Regions from separate parts of the Homo sapiens genome. Here all the other regions are linked to region 1. The links are contacts of gene promoters, found by promoter capture Hi-C in human tissues and cell types (Jung and others, 2019). All regions are on one chromosome and are shown on one strand. Each heading gives the region's core, a stretch centred on a gene start or on the middle of the fragment in contact. The rest is flanking DNA. Distances are from core to core; before and after follow the strand shown. Region 1 holds the start of ACLY (ATP citrate lyase). Region 2 holds the start of TUBG2 (tubulin gamma 2). Region 3 overlaps LOC102725238 (a long non-coding RNA gene).

The links. Contacts are between HindIII fragments. The study calls those that stand out against the background at their distance.
Region 2: the fragment with the promoter of TUBG2 here is called in contact with the fragment with the promoter of ACLY in region 1 in 1 of the 25 tissues and cell types used here (spleen).
Region 3: a contact is called between a fragment that was not itself captured here and the fragment with the promoter of ACLY in region 1, in 1 of the 25 tissues and cell types used here (small bowel).

Annotation. Positions count from the first base shown.
Region 1 is chr17:41,917,541-41,920,413 of GRCh38, reverse strand. ACLY (ATP citrate lyase) reads left to right here and starts at 1,463. Exons shown (of 29, transcript NM_001096.3): 1 at 1,463-1,534. RefSeq lists silencers at 1,081-1,340, 1,821-2,060. The HindIII fragment of the contact is 39,518 bases long and covers 1-2,873 here.
Region 2 is chr17:42,657,858-42,660,730 of GRCh38, reverse strand. TUBG2 (tubulin gamma 2) reads right to left here and starts at 1,447. Exons shown (of 11, transcript NM_016437.3): 1 at 1,179-1,447; 2 at 785-897; 3 at 415-582; 4 at 24-92. The coding sequence starts at 1,227. RefSeq lists enhancers at 1,231-1,300, 1,351-1,420, 1,431-1,490, 848-1,615. The HindIII fragment of the contact is 23,957 bases long and covers 1-2,873 here.
Region 3 is chr17:42,431,754-42,434,626 of GRCh38, reverse strand. The region is part of intron 2 of LOC102725238 (a long non-coding RNA gene); the gene reads right to left. Among named protein-coding and RNA genes, the nearest start is that of CAVIN1, 9.9 kb to the right of the region's middle. The HindIII fragment of the contact is 7,652 bases long and covers 1-2,873 here.

The DNA of each region.
Region 1 (2,873 bases), core at 214-2,713:
TTTGCCTTGTTGGTCTTGAACTCCTGACCTCAAGTGATCCCCCACCTTGGCCTTCCAAAGTGCTGGGATTACAGGTGTGAGCCACCAAGACTGGCCACCCCCATTTTAGGACAAGAGAAGAGAGGTGATAAGGAACTGCTATTTCAAAAAGATGAATGGGAGGGAAGGGACCAGAAAGTGACATCATCAGGGAACACTTGATTCAGGCATGGGTAGCAAGTTCAGTTACCTTACTCCTGGCAGCAACAGGATTGGGGGAGGGGGTCTTGGAGAAGATTTTGTCTGCAAATGTCGCAACACTGTTGCAGTGTGAGTATGACCCAAAGTGCTTGGCAGGGGGACAGGCCTGCTGCTTCCCTGCATTCTGGGCTGACCTCTTCACCTGAGTCGGTCAGTGGACGCTTTTGGCCTCCTTCCTGGAGCTAGACAGCTGTTAGGCTTAGGGAGCAGCTCCGGACCTACAGGGTTGGGGTGCAGGTAGGGAGGGAGGCTGCAGCATGTCAGAGTGGTAAATACATGTCCTGATTTCCAGGACTGATTTCACATATTCTGCCCCACAAGTTCACCAGCACCTGTCAGATTGGATGTCCCAGTTTTTGGTTTGGAAAATTCGATCTGTCTCAGGTAATGGAGAAGGGGGAGACAGCAGTTCATTCATTCCAGTGTCTAAGCCTGTGGTTGGTGGGAACAAGAGACTGTCTGGGATGGCTCCAGCCCTTCGCTGGAATCTCGCATTGAATTCCTAGCTCCGCCCTGATCCGTGCTGAGGCGAGCAGGTGAGTGGGACGGACAGCGCTGTGCCTGCACCCTCCTAGCCCCACTTGCTTACCGCGGCCCCTGCCTTATCCCACACTGGGAAGTATGCTCTGTTAGCCTCGGCTCAGCCTTGCCTCATCGGCCCAGTGGGGAGAGTCCAGGGAGGAGAGAGGCTCCACGTGCTAAAGGAAAGCGGCCTGCCAGACACTGCTGCTTAAGGAGACTGTCTAAGCAATCGGATTCGGTGCGGCCGAGATGCAGACGTCCGTTTCTCCCAAGGGAAGGAGCAAGGGTACTCCAGGTCCCAAAGCTGCGTTACAGCCAGTTGGGCTAATCCTACCCGCCCCTCCCCCAACTCCCCGAGTGGCAATCTGTCCAGCCCCTCAAGCGATCAGGCCACAACCCCCAGCACCGCGCGTTCTCCTCCCAGCCTAGCCCGGCCCATCTCCCCACCCGGGGCCCCGCCCCGGCCCCGCAGGCTCCCAAGAGGCGGTGGATGGGCCAGCGGGACTACAAGTCCCAGCAGGCCCCGGGGCCCGCCCTCGTGGGGCGGAGCCAAGCCAGCAGCGAATTGGGAGGAGCCCTGGCGCTCAGGCTAGGGAACGCGTGTGGCCAATCGCGGGGCCGTTCTCGCCGCGAGCCGATGGGGGCGGGGAAAAGTCCGGCTGGGCCGGGACAAAAGCCGGATCCCGGGAAGCTACCGGCTGCTGGGGTGCTCCGGATTTTGCGGGGTTCGTCGGGCCTGTGGAAGAAGCGCCGCGCACGGACTTCGGCAGAGGTGAGCACGGGAGGCTGTTTTCGCTGGCTGGAGCCCGCTCGCCCTAGGAGCTTCCTGCCTCCGTCCCCCAACCCGGAACCGCCTTCCCCGACGCGGGCTCGGTGCCCACGCGCCCTGCTCGGAAGTTTTGAGGGTCTTAGCTTTAGGTTAGCCTTCGCCCGGGGTCCCGGCCGGTGGCCGCGTGTCGACGCCCCTCCCCTCCCCCCGCGCGACACACACATATTCCAGTTCCTGGGAGTTTGCATGGGGCTTGCCGCCATCCTTGCCTCTTCTGCCTCTGCCACATTGCATGGTCCCCCTCCTGGCGCGCCTCACCCCTCCCGGGCACAGCTATCGAGGCTCCTCGGGCTCATCGGGACGCCTTTTGGCTCCATCCGGGTTCCCCCATCGGATGCCGGGACGGGAAGTAGAGAAAGCGGTGGCGACTGGTCCCACTCCGATTCCTCACTGGCCGGGCTCAGGCCCTTCTTGGTTCCGTGGGTACAAAATTGAGCTCCACGCCCAAGTGGAGAGAATGAGCTATGCGCGCCTCCGGGGCGGGCCACGCGGGGCCAGGCTGCCCCAGGGTGCCCGAGGCCTCGCCTCGTCTCGCCGCGAGGACTGGAATCTCGCAGCAAGGACCCTCCTCGCACTGGAGGTATCGTCGAGTCCAGCCCCTAAGTGACAGATGGCCGGGGTGCCACCCCACCCTTGAGCTGACGCCAAGTCTGGCCGGGGAAAGGTCCTCAAGGGGCTGGAGGATGCTGCCGCCGCCCTCCTGTCGAGCCTGGCAATGGGCCAGTCCCAGCGCCTGCCGCGGTCTCCAACCTTGGCAGATACCGTGCAGTGCCGAGTTCTGCCGTTATGGGGTCCCTGGAGGTCTTCCTGGGAAGAGGATTTTGGAAGAGACGATAAGGAAAAGTGCACAGCACAGTTTGGCCAGCTAGCCTACTCCTCTCCACCCTTAACTTTCCTCTGTGTTTTCAGCTGGCTCAGCTGAACTAAAATGTGGGGTGAGGGACAGCTGGTAGGTCTCATTTGCCCAGATGGGTGATTTTCACCTCTTAGAAACCTTCCTAAACAGCTTGGGGGGCGGTAGTGGGAAGACCCCTCAGACACTGGACAGCTTATGGCTCCATCCCCGTTCTGACACTATGCCTGCCGCAGTAAGGGGCACTCACAGAATTCTGCCTCTCTAGAATTTACTCCAGGGATTGCCTGTCTTCTCAAAAAATAAATAAATAAATACCTACATACGTAAGTCCCAATCCTGCAGATACTAACCTTCAAATGAGTGTTTTTGTCTTTCCCAGAGGCACCCTTAGTAGCATCCCCAGTGATTCCCTTCCCCTGGCTGTGT
Region 2 (2,873 bases), core at 198-2,697, 740 kb before region 1:
CTTCCCCCACTCCATAACTTCACCTCCAAACTGTCACTTCCATCTGCTTCTCGGTCTATGATGTCAAAGATGTCTTCATGAATTTTCTCACCCTGTATAGAGATATGGAAAGGGAGGGTCAGGCCAAAGGTTCCAGAGAGCATCTTTTCTCAGCACAGCACCAAGAATTCTGTCTACCCTGGAATATTGTTGCCACCCTGAAGCAGAGCCTAGGCTGTAGCCCTCAACCCAGAAGTGCTACTATTGCAAATGATTTGCACAAAATTTGCATAAACCTCTCCCTGGCTGTCCCTCTTGTTCGGGACATCCTTTTGTCTCTTATTTTCTGTCAGTCAGGTCAAATTCCTAGTAGCTTGAGCCTGCCTTGCCTCTGGATGGGAATATCAAAGGTCTCTGGAATGGTCGCTAGGACACCTGGGAGAATCCGCTGGCCCAGTTGTTGCCAGCTCCTCCTCCATGTTCCGACAGGTAGATGTTCTCTGGGTTGTAGAGCTTGGCATAGGGGGAGTTGAGGATGGAGTGGATCACCCGGGGTTCCAAGTCCAGCAGCACGGCCCGGGGGATGTAGTGCTCATCGTCTGCCTGTCAAGGGGAGTCCAGGAGGGGGCCCAATCAGCTAGGGCGGCCCAAGTCCGAAGTCCTCCCAACTCTGGCTCCCTCCGGCCCTCCCTCCTCAAGCCAGCCGCCTGGCCCTACTGCCCAGCGGGGTTCCCAGTACCAGGCCACTCCCTTCCCTTCCGCCCCCTTGGGCCACTGCCGCCCCCGGCCAAGTCGCTGGGGGCACCTGGTAGAAAAAGACGTCCTTGCGGTCAGTGCCCTCGGTGGCGAATTCCTCCACGATGCCCTCGGGGCTGATACCATGCTCGGCGCACAGCTGTTTCCAGAACTCGAACCCAACTGGGGGAGGGGGGAGATGCCCGGGTCTGCTGGAGCCTTAAGGCCTGAGGAGCCCAGTTTTAGTCTCAGAGGCTGACACGATCAGAGGGTGGACCCAAGATGCCTGGGTTTGGTAGCTGCCCCAGCCCCGGGCTGGAGGCGCAGCTCTCGGTCTGGGTTATCCAGAGCAGCAGGGCAGGGGGTTCATGGAAGGGAAAGGGGGACTGGTGGAAGCCAGGCACTTGGGTGGGACCCGAAGGGGCAGAACCAGAGACCGGCGGGGCCGGCGCTCGCTTGCTCACTCTGGTTGCCGCACTGGCCCAGCTGCAGGGTGATGATCTCCCGGGGCATCGCTCTTCAGACGTGGGCGCGCCAGCCCCGGCCTGGCGAGAGTCACGGCTGAGACGAATGCCCGGCAGCCAGGAGCGCAGGACGTGGGGAGCGCGCGCTCTCTTCGCCTCTTGACGCGGATGCTCGGTCTGCGCGTGTGCAGCGCAGGCCTCTCCTCGGCCGGTGGGCCGGGGAGCCCAACCTGGGCATCATTTTCTCCCTCAGCAGTCGCAGCTGGAATTCCGCACAGGCGCAGAGTCAGGCCACGCCCGCTCCTGCCCACCGCTCCGCGCCTGCGCAGTGAGACTCGTTGGGGGTGGCAGGGTCGGAACCTGGATGTGTTGGGGAGGAGAGGAACGGGGGAGGGGAGGAAAGGGGAGAAGCGGCCAGGTGGATGTGCTTGTCCACGTGTAAGGAGTCATCTACCTATATTGGTAGGTGAGGACACTGTCAGCTTTGCTAGATCAAAGGGCTAGAAGCCAACTTTTCTTCGTTTAAATTTCTGTTTTTTAATGGTGTTACAATACATACACATGTATGTTACCTTTTTATTTTTTAGAAGGGTCTCGCTCTGTCGCCCAGGCTGGAGTGCAGTGGCGCGATCATAGCTCACTGTAGCCTTGAACTTCTGGCTTAAGTGATCCTCCCACTTCAGTCTCCCGAGTAGCTGGGACTACAGGCGTGTGCTACCACGCCCAGCTAATTTTTAAATTTTTAAAATGTATTTTTATAGAGATGGGGATCTCACCGTGTTGCCCAAGATGGTCTTAAACTACTGGCCTCAATCAATCCTCCTGCCTTGGCCTCCCAAAATGCTGGGATTACAGGCATGAGCCACCACTCCTGGCCTAAATTTACCATTGTAACCATTTGTAAGTACTGCATACAGTTCTGTGGCACCAAGTACACTCACATTGTTCTGTAACCACCACCACCATTCTTTTCTAGAACTTTCTTATCTTCCCAAACTGAAACTCTATCGCGATTAAACAGTAACTTCCCCTTGACTACTCTAGGCACCTGATATGAGTGGAATTATACAGTATTTGTCTTTTTGGGTCTGGCTTCTTTCACTTAACATAATATCTTCAAGATCCTTCCATTTCGTAGCATGTGTCAGAATTTCCTTCCTTTTTACAACTGAATAATATTCCATTGTATAGATGTACCACATTTTGCATAACCATTCATCCCTCCATGGACATTTGGGTTGCTTCCACCTTTTGGCTATTGTGAATGTTGCTGCTTTGAATGTGAGTGTACAAATATCTGTTCGAGTCCCTGCTTTCAATTATTTTGGATATACACCCAGAGGTAGAATTGCTGGATCATATGGTAATTGTGTTTAATGTTCTGAGGAATCGCCATACGATTTTCCATGGTAGCTGCACCATTTTAAATTCCCACCAGCAATGCACAAGGGTTCAGTTAAATAAATTTTATAGGAGGCCATTGATTTGCACTGAGCTCCTGTGCTTGGCTCAACAGACCAAACCAAAATGGAGTCACTCACGCTAAAGTTCTATGTCACTAAGCAACACTAAGTTGTTTATCAAACCTTCAGAGGAATCAGGAGAGGGAAGGAAGAGCCAAAACCCCAAACAAGCCAGTGTGAGCCGGCATGATACGGAAGTCCTTTTACAAGAAAAGTAACTTTGAAAGGACCC
Region 3 (2,873 bases), core at 374-2,873, 510 kb before region 1:
GCATGAGCCACTTCATCCGGCCAGAAAAGGTAGGATTAATGCTTCATTGATTCTCTTTATTTGCCAATTTGTTTGTTTGTTTGAGACAGAGTCTTGCTCTGTCACCCAGGCTGGGATACAGTGGCGTGATCTCAGCTCACTGCAACCTCTACCTCCCGGGTTCAAGTGATTCTCCTGCCTCAGCCTCCCAAGTAGCTGGGACTACAGGCATGCGCCACCACACCCGGCTAGTTTTTGTATTTTTTGGTAGAGACAGGGTTTCACCATGTTGGCCAGGGTGATCTTGAACTCCTGACCTCAAATGATCCGCCTGCCTTGGCCTCCCAAAGTGCTGGAATTACAGGCGTGAGCCACTGCACCCAGCCAAAATTGTAATATTTTAGACTCCTCCTTCTCCTTCAGTATCTACATGTACTCATTCATCAAGCCCTAATGGTTTTCATGCTATAGTGCTCACCCATCAGTCCTCTCTCTGTGCCCCGTAATGCTCTAGTTCAAATGATCATCTTCCCCTGCTGGGACTATTGCAGTAGTCTCCTGTTAGATCTCCTTTTTTCTAGTCCCAGCACCTTCCAAACTATCATTTACAGTTTTTCAAATCAATTTTCATTCTAAAATGCATTATGAATTGGAAGGAAAAGGTTGGAGACACAGAGACAAACTAGGAAAGTACAGTAACAGCCATCAGCTGGTAACAACAGGATCAGACAGACAGTCACAGAAATGGGAATTACAGGGGAGTGATAATGAAGGAAGGAAGGCAGGATCTGGGATTTCATTTGCTTTAGTAGATGAGAGAAAGAGAGGAGATAAATATAATTCTAAGGTTGGAGTCTCTGGTGTTTGATAGGACGGTCCCACCATCAACAGAAATAAGCCAAGAAGCATTCTAGCTTTTGAGGAAAGATATTTGGTTTAGGCGGGGCATGGTGGCTCACGCCTGTAATCCCAGCACTTTGGAAGGCTGAGGTGGGTGGATTATGAGGTCAGGAGTTCGAGACCAGCCTGACCAACATGGTGAAACCCCGTCTCTACTAAAAATACAAAAATTAGCCAGACGTGGTCATGCGCACCTGTAATCCCAGCTACTCGGGAGGCTTAAGCAGGAGAATTGCTTGAACCCAGGGGGCAGAGGTTGCAGTGAGCCGAGATTGTGCCACTGTATTCCAGCCTGGGTGACAGAGCAAGACTCCGTCTAAAAAAAAAATTAGCCTGTTGTGACCAGTAGTCCAAGCTACTTGGGAGGCTGAGGAAGGAGGATGGCTAGAGACCAGTAGTTTGAGGTTGCAGTGAGCCATGATTGTGCCATTGCACACCAGCTTGGGCAACAGGGAGACTGTCTCTTAAAAAAACAAAAAAATGGAAACAACTCAAACGTCCATCAGCTGATGAATGGATAAACAGCATGGGGCATATTTATACAACGGAATATAGCCATAAAGAGGAATGAAGTATTGATACATGCTACAACATAGATCAACCTTGAAAACATGCTAAGTAAAAGAAGCGAGACACAAAAGGCTACAAATTGTATGATTCCATTCATATGAAGTGTTCAGAACAGGAAAATCTATAGAGACTTAAAACTTACTGGTTGCTAGGGGACAGGGAAGAGAGGAGTGGGGAGTGACAGCTAATGGGTATGAGGTAACAGTGGTGAATTTCACCTGAGCCCTGTGCTCTTGGAAAACATCCAAGGTTAAAGGAATCCCCTATGTTTTTGTTTACTGCCAAGAACCACCCTTCCCCATGTGACTCGCAGATGCCCCCCATTGTTTACCTGTGACAGGAACAGACACAGAACTTCAAATTCTTATTCTCTGCCTCATGAATGACCAGCTAAACTGGTTTTCCCAACACTGATCACGATGAACAAAATGCTCATTAAACAAATTTTGTTGGTTCAGCGTGGTGGCTCACACCTGTAATCTCAGCACTTTGGGAGGCCAAGGTGGGCAGATCACCTGAGGTCAGGAGTTCAAGGCCAGCCTGGCCAACATAGTGAAACCCGTTTCTACAAAAATACAAAAATTAGCCGGGCATGATGGCGTGTGTCTGTAATCCCAGTTACTCAGGAGGCTGAGGTGGGAGAATCACTTGAACCCGGGAGGCGGAGGTTGCAGTGAGCCGAGATCACGCCATTGTACTCCAGCCTGGGTGACAGAGTGAGACTCCGTCTCAAAAATAAATAAATAAATAAAAGGCTGGGCTCGGTGGCTTAAGCCTGTAATCTGAAGTTGGGACTTCGAGACCAGGCTGACCAACATGGAGAAACCCTGTCTCTACTAAAAATACAAAAAATTAGCCGGGCATGGTGGCGCATGCCTGTAATCCCAGCTACTCGGGAGGCTGAGGCAGGAGAATCTCTTAAACCTGGGAGGCGGAGGTTGCTATGAGCCAAGATAGCGCCAGTGCACTCCAACCTGGACAACAAGAGCGAAACTCCGTTTCAAAAAAAAAAAATAACACATTTTGTTTAAGCTTTTCTTCTTCCTCCAGGCCCTGAACTCTGGCCCACCCTCACTGGGCCTGAGCCAGCACACAACCCCTCCTGAGGATAGCCTGACCTCAGGGTAAAACATTCTCTGATCTATTCTCTCATCAGGCCACTTTCCTCCTATTCTCTACACCTGGTTCTTTCTAGCTTTGTTTACTCCTCTCTATAAAAGGAAAAAGGTCTGGCCCTTAAGACATTTGCAGAACTATGGGCCGATCCTTCTCCCTATTGCAATAGACTCCCTCCCCGTATTGCAACAGTCTTTTTCCCCTCCTTGCAAACATTCTTTAGGATAAAGTCTCCCTTTAGTGTTTTTTCTTTGTCGGGGGCTTTCTGGGGGCTGATGAAAGTTGATTCTTGCACAACATTGTGAATA